Regions from separate parts of the Homo sapiens genome. Here region 2 is linked to region 1. Evidence: promoter capture Hi-C in human tissues and cell types (Jung and others, 2019). All regions are on one chromosome and are shown on one strand. The core of a region is centred on a gene start or on the middle of the fragment in contact, and the rest is flanking DNA. Distances in the headings are between cores, read along the strand shown. Region 1 holds the start of ATP6V0E1 (ATPase H+ transporting V0 subunit e1). Region 2 holds the start of BOD1 (biorientation of chromosomes in cell division 1).

Region 1 (4,484 bases), core at 1,265-3,764:
AAAAAAGTTACAGGAAGCTAAGGTTAATTTATTTTTGAAGAAAGAAAAATATTTTTTCAGAAATTTCATGTAGCCTAAGTATACAGTGTTTCTAAAGTCCACCATGGTATACAGCAATGTCCTGGTTCTTCACATTCACTCACCAGTCACTGACTCACTCACAGCAATTTCCAGTCCTGCAAGCTCCATTCATGGTAAGTGCCCTACACAGGTGGACCATTTTAAATCTTTGATATGTATTTTTACTGTACCTTTTCTATGTTTAGATACACAAATACCATTGTGTTACATTTGTCTATACAGTATTTAAGGACAGTAACATGCTGTACAGGTGTGTAGCCTACCTAGAGGCAACAGGTTCTACCAAATAGCCTAGGTGTGTAGTAGGCTGTACCATCTGTTTAAGTAAACTCTTTGTTCACACAAAAGCCCAACTAACACATTTCTCAAACATAGTCCTTTTGTTAAGTGACACATGTCTATATATCACTAGCTGGTCAAATACCTGAATCATGACACTCTCTAGGGCTAAGTGGAAACAGGATGGGTTTCATTACCCTGGATAATGGCAATGACATCCCAAGGAAGGGGAGAGAATGGTCTTTAAGAAAGGAATTGTCAGTGCTATTAGTACATTAATAAATGCTTCTTTGAGTACAAAGGCCATAAAGGCAGACAGTAGGGTAATGAAACAGTTGAAGATATAAACACAACAAAGAAGCACTTTGTTGTTCGCTAACTCCAGTAGGAAAAACAAGTCTAATTAACTTTGGTAAATACAATTGCTTTAATAATGCCAGAATTCTGACTCTGTCCATCAACCTCTATAGGTAGGAGAGATGACCCCATATAACTGGTGTTACCAGGGAGGAGGAACTTGATACTTAAAAATGATAAAAATTCATCTACCATGTATCTTTTAAAAAAAAATAATTTTAGACTAATAAAGCAAATGTATCCCAGGGAGCAAAAGGGGTTCAGGTCACAAAATATTAGGGAAGTAGTAAAAATCTTTTTCTTTCTTTTTTTTTTTTTTTTTTGAGACGGAGTCTCGCTCTGTCGCCCAGGCTGGAGTGCAGTGGCGCGATCTCGGCTCACTGCAAGCTCTGCCTCCTGGGTTCACGCCATTCTCCTGCCTCAGCCTCCCGAGTAGCTGGGATTACAGGCGCCCGCCACCACGCCCGGCTAATTTTTTGTGTTTTTAGTAGAGACGGGTTTCACCGTGTTAGCCAGGATGGTCTCGATCTCCTGACCTCGTGATCCGCCCGCCTTGGCCTCCCAAAGTGCTGGGATTACAGGCGTGAGCCACGGCACCTGGCCAAAAATCTTTTTCTTTTAATAAAGACAATAGAACTATTCACTCAACAGGTATTTATTGGGTGCCTCCTGTGCATACAAGGTACTATGAAAACCAGGCACTATGAAGCCACCAATTAGGTTCAAGAATAAAGCAAGAGATGGTGTTTCTGACAAACTGACTTCAGTCGAAGTTTCACCTCTCATCATCTTGAACTGAGAAAAAAATGACTGAGAAGCAAAAGAGGAACCAGGAAGAGGGTGTTCCAAGGCTCCTTTGAAGATTAAGCCTCTATTTTATACTACAGTTAAAAAGTTTAATTCCAAAAGAGACAAAGCTCTAACCAACAAAGAAGTCTGGAAAAACAAAATCTTTCTTAGCCAATCATTCTAAGCACTTCTTACACTCACATACAAGAGCCGGAGCGCCCTCCAAAAGGCATGACGCAGGGGTTTCTCAACAATACCTCCTGCTCTTTGGTAATTAATCTCGCTTTAGATCAGGCCCCAACCGCCTCCTGGCGCCCACTAGATGCAAGGCCTGGGCTCAATGTTGTCGAAGGAGCTTGTTCTGTACGCAACCGCGACAGCATGGGAGGCAGAGAAGCCAATTTCTGTTTTATTTATTTGATCCTTAAGTTCAGGCAAACGAGGCCTCATGTGGGTGGAAGGCAGGGCTAAAGGGGGACAGTCGACTAGGGACAAACCCCAGTTTCTCCCAGATTCGGCCTGCTCATTTCCGACTGCACCTCCCCACACAGGACTATGATGAGAAAAAATTCCCCTGAAACTCGTTTCCAAGGGGGGTCCACCAAAGGTCACCCTCCACTCGCTCAGGCCGGAGGACACTGAAGCTGCTGCGAAAAGGAACACAAGGAGTTCCGCCGGGTCGGGGGCCTGACTCTGCAGCGCGGGGGGCGCCCATGCAACGTTCTCTGACCCGTGTGGGGGTCGTGCCTTTCCCCGCCCCGGCCTGCTAGCTCCTCACCGCCCGTTCCTCCCAAGGCGGGCCTCACGCACTTACCCCCGGTTAGGACCCTTAGGGATGAACCAAGGCACCAAGAAGCCGACGAAGCCCCAGAACACGCTCATCACAATGAGAGGCACAGTGAGGCCGTGATACGCCATGGTCGCCGCCTGAGCGCCAACCCCTACCCCGTCGCCTCACTCGGATCCCACCAGGAAGTGTCAATAGCTGACCGCGTGACCAGCGTGTGCAAGCCCCGCCTCCCGCGCCCCCACGTGACCCGCGCGCCGGCCTCCGCCCCTCGGGGAGCCCAGAGGCAGAGCCCCGCCTTCGCCTGGCTGTCTCCTGGCTGCAGCTCCTTGGAGGCATGTCGCTCACCCCAGAGCTAGGGATTCGGTCACCCGGGGCTCAGCAAAGTGTTCTGATGAGAACTTGGCCCTTTTAGACAAAGAGTGTAGTTATCTACAGCCTCATCTACTTATGCAACAGACATAGAGAACTTAACAATAGTTGTCCCTTACTATTCTGAATTCCCGTGTGCCTGGCACTGGGCCATGATCTTTAAGTTCATGAGCCCCAGGCCGGGTGCGGTGGCTCACGCCTGTAATCCCAGCACTTTGGCAGGCTGAGGCAGGCGGATCACTTGAGGTCAGGAGTTCGAGACCAGCCTGGCCAACATGGTGTAACCCTGTCTCTACTAAAAATACAAAAATTAGCTGGGTGTGGTGGTGCGCGCCTGTGGTCCCAGCTACTCAGGAGGCTGAGGCAGGAGAATCAATTGAACTCGGGAGGTGGAGGTTGCAGTGAGCCGAGATTGCGCCACTGCACTCCAGCCTGGGCAACAGAACAACACTCTGTCTCAAAAGAAAAAAAAAAAAGTGCATGAGCCCGTGTTGAACTCCTCACTTCAGCCTATGAGGTAATTGTAATTATTATCCCCACTTTGCAGTTGAAGAAACTGAGGCCCAGGGAAGAGGATAAGGATCTTGCCCAAAGTCACATAGTAAGTGGCAGGGCCAGGATTCAACCCCTGATTATCTGATTTTCAAGGCCAGAGCTCTTAACTAGCGCACCACTATTTATCTTGTGTGCTGTGCCAGGCTCTGGAGTTACAGAAGTCAATCAGGCACCCCTGAGGGAGTTCACATTCTGGGGAGCAGATGACCTTGCAAACAGGCGACTCAATGCAGTGTGAAAGTAAGTGGACGACCCTGCAAGGCTTTCTACCCAACTCGTCCTTGCTGAGCCTTGAAAGACAAGTAGAAATTAGCCAGAATGGTAAGAAGAAAAACAGGCCAGGCATGGTGGCTCACACCTGTAATCCCAGCACTTTGGGAGGCCGAGGCGGGCAGATCACCTGAGGTCAGTAGTTCAAGACTAGCCTGGGCAACATGGTGAAATCCCATCTCTACTAAAAATACAAAAATTGGCCAGGTATGCACCTGTAGTCCCAGCCACTCAGGAGGCTGAGGAACAAGAACCGCTTGAATCCCTGGGAGGCAGAGGTTATAATGAGCTGAGATCGCACCACTGCACTCCAGCCTTGGCGACAGAGTGAAACTCTGCCTCAAAAAAAAAAAAAAAAAGAAAGAAAGAAAAAGAAAGGTAAAACAGTTTTGTTTGTTTGTTTGTTTTTTGAGACAGGGCCTTGCTCTGTCACCCAGGCTGGAGTGCAGTGGTGCTCCATAGCTCACTGCTGCCTGGAACTCCCGGGCTCAAGCCATCCTTCTGCCTCAGCCTCCTGAGGAGCTGGGACTACAGGTGTGCACCACCACACCAGCTAATTTTTAAAATGTTTTGTAGAGACAGAGCCTCGCTATGTTGCCCCGGTGGGTCTTAAACTCCTGGCCTGAAGGGATCCTCCACCTCAGCCTCCCAAAGTGCCGGGATTACTGGCATAAGCCACCGTGCTGAGCTGATAAACAGGGCTTAGAACGCTTGCTGAGAATTTTCACATATGTTAGTTATAGTATGCGCCAAGCTTGGAATAGACAAGGAAGCCAGTTCTCAGAGAGGTTGAGGAGCTTGATGATAAAGCTTACAGGTGAAAGCAAGATAGAAAGCAGGTCTTTAAATGCAATGTGCTTTACCAGGGACCATGGTTTCCTTGCAGTAGCCACATTGCATTAACTCCTGATTTCTTTCATCAAGTAGAATGGATTCCTGTATTAAACGGGAAACTGGACCAATAATCTTCAACATCTGTACCAACTTTTCGGAC
Region 2 (4,484 bases), core at 1,092-3,591, 630 kb before region 1:
CCCCTTCCCCTTTTATCCCTCATCATTTACTTTGATTGCAGAGGGAAGGTCATGGATACAGAATGCAGCCTTTTGTCAATGTTCAGAGACCCAGCAACCAAGACACAGGTCCCCATGACAGATAGTGAAATTGTCACAGTGTGAACCAAGTGCAGACAATCTCCAGGATCACTTACCTATTTAAGTCATGACAGATTCATCCATCATCTCCTGCTAGAATGCTCCTTCTTTTCTGAAGATTATGGCTACACATAATCCTACCCACGCACTCTGTGATGCTATCCCACAGCTTTAGGAAACAGACAGGAATTTATACATTCTCTTTGAGCTAAGAACTATCGTGCTAAGAGCTGGAGACACAGTGATGAACAAGTCGTGGTCCCCATTCTAAATATTACACCCTATCAGGGGACTCAGGTGGCCAATTTGTCTGTAAATCATTCACTTCCAATTATAATAATTGCTACAAAAAATGAGGCTTTGAGTTTCTGTAGCATGGAGGAAATATCTCATTGGATCTAGGGGTCAGAAGAATTTTCCCTGAGGAAGGAGAGTAAGATGTGGGGTGCCAAAAATGGAGAAGGGACTAGTCAGAGTGATCAAGGGCTTGCAGAAGAAAGAACCTGGGGCTGAGGCAGCCTGAACTGGGCTTCTCCTGGGGTTAAAGGTGAGTGATCAGTGTAGAGTCAACCAGTAGGAACAGACATTAGGTAATCTCAAGGATGGTGAGCTATTAAGAGAGAATGTTTGTCATTAACTGACCCATTGTGAATGATTGAGCTGGTGTTAGAGGATGAGTATAATCCAACACCTGAATGTTTCTTTTGAGGGTTAATTTAAACTCTCTTGGACAGGTGTGGTGGCTCACACCTGTAATCCCAGCACTTTGGGAGGCTGAGGCGGGTAGATCACTTGAGGTCAGGAATTCAAGACCAGCCTGGCCAACATGGTGAAACCCCCATCTCTACTAAAAATACTAAAATTAGCCAGGTATGGTGGCATGCGCCTGTAATCCCAGCTACTCGGGAGGCTGAGGCAGGAGAATTGCTTGAACCCAGGAGGTGGAGGCTGCAGTGAGCCAAGATTGCACCACTGCACTCCAGCCTGGGCGATAGAGTGAGACTCTGTCTCAAAAAAAAAAAAGAAAAAAAAATTAAACTGTCTTGAGTACTAAATATTGGTGTGGAGAACATCCTGGATCTTTGCCAATTCTGCATCTTCGCAGGAGCCAAGGATATTGCAGAATTTGCTATTTACATCCCCTCTGCTGCTTGTGTAAGATGAGGAAACAACAATAGCAGACATAATTGCTGAGGTTGGGAGGGGGAGCTGAGCTAACAATAGGCAAAAGATGAAGGGAAGAGAGGATAATGGTGGCAGCTATAGGATTCCAATGGTGAATTGTGGCTACTTAAAAAAATCAGGATATAAAGCCTTACCTATTGTGGGATACCAACTAGCTCTCAGGATACCTCAGGCTAAAATGCAAGATTTAGATCCTCAAAACCTGGGTTCAAATCCTACTTTTCTACCTCTAGGTATGTGATTAGGTTAACAAACTTTCTTCTGCCTCCATTTCTACGTCTGTAAATAGCAATAATAGTAGTATGTATCTGCTTTTTTAAATTATCGTGAAGAAGTGCGTGGAAAGTGCATAGCATCACGCCTGACACTTTTCAATTATTCAATATTGGCTTATGATTGACAATATTTAATATTTGGGAGGAAATCCACACACATATAAGACAGACTTAAGGAAAACTTTTATTTTCTTCTTCACACTTTTCCGTTATTTTCCAATTTTCTAAAATGAGTATGCATTGCTATTAAAACCAAAAGGAGGGAAACTCACAAATTTCTGAACAATAGAAGTTTGACTGTTCCACTGTTTCCGGAATTTCCCGGAACATGTTGTTCAAGAAGGACGTGGGAGTGCATGCTGAAGCACAGATTGCTAGGTCTCGACCCGTAAATACTGGATAAAAATCTTTAAGAAATAATTCTGGTAATCTATACTTTTAATCAGCTCCACAGATGACTGTTATAATCGGGCACTGCTGGGACGTGTTGATTGAATGGGAAGTGAGCAGAGAGTGGGCGGGGAAGGCCTGGCGGGGAAGGCCTGGCGGGTTGCAGCGATCACGAGGCCTGCGCCTACAGTTCCCATATTACCCCGCGAAATCGCGACGAGCAAGCACGAACCCTGCCGGGAGTTGTAGTTTCTCTCGGCTAGGCCGCTGCCTATAAAGAACGCCGGAGATGGCCACAGAAAACTTCCCGCCCCACAATGCAAAGGTCAACGTTGACGCCATCTGGGGTGCGCCTGGAATCGAGCAGGCCGTTTCTGCCGCGTCCACCACAACCTCTGCTGTATCAGAGGGGGCCTTCGCCGCCGCCGCCCCCACCACCGCCCCTGCCGCCATCGCCACCTCCGCCGCTGCCGCCTTGGGGCCCTCCTCCTTCACCGCCCCCTTCACCACCTCTACACGTTCTAGGCCTTCTGTCCTGGAGAAGAAGCTATAGTCGTTCTCCCTTGTGGGCCCGGGGCGCAGCCATGGCGGACGGCGGCGGCGGCGGGGGAACTGGCGCGGTGGGCGGCGGCGGAACTAGCCAGGCCTCTGCCGGGGCAGCGACTGGCGCTACTGGGGCCAGCGGGGGCGGTGGCCCCATCAACCCGGCCTCGCTGCCTCCCGGCGACCCGCAGCTCATCGCTCTCATCGTGGAGCAGCTCAAGAGCCGGGGCCTTTTTGACAGCTTCCGCCGGGACTGCCTGGCCGACGTGGACACCAAGGTAGCTGCGGCCGCCTGGGCGTTGGGGAGCGGGGCTGCACGTGAGGCCGCCGGGTGGCAGCTTTGATTTTCGAAAGCCGAGAGCAAAACAAAAGATAGCTTAGAAATCTCAGCGGTGAGGTCTTACACCGCTTGGGGCAGTACGGAGAGCTTTCTGAGCGATGCACACGTGGGTTCCTGCCTGATACATTTACTACTAGTTGTGATTTTACCCAGTCCCTTCTCCGAACTTGGGGTTTCAATGTGGGTTTTAGAGCCTAGACCGTATCATTCCCAAGATGGAACTCCTCTGAGGCCCTTAATAACAAACTTCGAAACCAAGTAGATAAGCAAGCGTGCTTTAGAATTTCCACCTGTTCCGTACTCACCACTGAGAAGCTGGCATTAAACACAATGATTTGAACACACAGTCATCACCATTTTATAGCTGTTTATTCCTTTTCTCTAGCTCATTGTTTTGCAGACTAGTACGGCGTTGAATTAAGATAAATTGTAGAAACAGCACCCTTATTTTGCACTTCATCATTGATAAAAGGAGATTTGGTGCCTAGTTGAGATCCTAATGCCATTGGTCAGTCCCACCAGTAAAACGCTATTTCACTTTACCTACTCGTCAGGGTGGTTTGGATTCAATGAAATAATGGGTGTTAAGTATCAGACATACAGTAGTTGCTGGAATGTTCATTTTCTTCCTTTTCAAAACTTGTCTAGCCACGACTGTGGTTGTAGGTTAGGAGACCCTGTCACTGGACTCCTGCAGGGTAGTGATTTCTCCTACCAGAGCCTGTCATGGAAACATTTTGCTTACCTCACAGCAAGATTGTGAGCTTAGAATTAGACCTTAAGATAGGGAAAAACGTAGTCTGTTTATTCGTTGAACGTTTATTGGCCTCTAGTTGCCAAGCTGTGCGATTACAGGAATAAGTCACTACCCCATCCTCAAAACTTATAGTCTAGGTTAGAAAACTGACATGTAAATAAACCAGGTGGTAAATACGGATGTAGAGAGAGAAAGTGGTATACACTGTTCCTTCTCCAAGATGAAAAGCCCAACTAGAAGTCTGTCCTTGAAACAAAGTAATTTAATACATATACATCCCAGATCTGTATTGACAGAGCTTTCACCTTTCCTAGGACAAGTTCTCCATTCATATTTCTTATATTCCGTTAGGTTTTGTGTGTGATTTTAAAACAAAAGCGACTACAGTAGCCCGCCCCATCCAAGGTTTTGCTTTCTGCGGTTTCATTTACCCAATTGTTGCGGTATGGAAGTACTTGTGTTCAGGTAACCCCTATTTTACTTCATAATGGCCCTCAAAGACATTCATGCGTAGTGTATATAGGGTTCAGTACTACCTGAGGTTTCAGGCACCCACTGGGGATCTTGGAACGTATCCCCTGAGGGGGGAGGGGACTACCCTCTTGAGCGGCTGGTGAGGGAGAGTGGTTGGAACCTTCCCATGTACAGCTCCTTAGCTGTTCCTTCTGAGAATTCCAGGTTGTTTTAGTTCTTGAAGATAGTGTTTTTTCAGGCATATCTTATCTGAGACCTTTGTTGCTTCAGCCCAGTGGTTCTCAAAGCGTGGTGCTTGGATTAACATCAGCATCACCTGAGAACTTGTTAGAAATGCACATTTTGGGCCCCACCCCAGACTGCTGAAGTATTTAGGGGAAATTGAACAGATGTCTGTAAT

The links. The method cuts DNA at HindIII sites, captures the fragments that hold promoters and counts their contacts. A contact is called where the count stands out against the background at its distance.
Region 2: a contact is called between the fragment with the promoter of BOD1 here and the fragment with the promoter of ATP6V0E1 in region 1, in 1 of the 25 tissues and cell types used here (IMR-90 fibroblasts).

What each region holds. Positions count from the first base shown.
Region 1 is chr5:172,981,801-172,986,284 of GRCh38, reverse strand. ATP6V0E1 (ATPase H+ transporting V0 subunit e1) reads right to left here and starts at 2,514. Exons shown (of 4, transcript NM_003945.4): 1 at 2,321-2,514. The coding sequence starts at 2,424. RefSeq lists a silencer at 2,460-2,639 and an enhancer at 2,405-2,699. The HindIII fragment of the contact is 13,025 bases long and covers 1-4,484 here.
Region 2 is chr5:173,614,507-173,618,990 of GRCh38, reverse strand. BOD1 (biorientation of chromosomes in cell division 1) reads left to right here and starts at 2,341. Exons shown (of 4, transcript NM_138369.3): 1 at 2,341-2,791. The coding sequence starts at 2,555. RefSeq lists enhancers at 2,065-2,144, 2,165-2,424 and silencers at 2,405-2,474, 2,485-2,534. The HindIII fragment of the contact is 11,068 bases long and covers 1-4,484 here.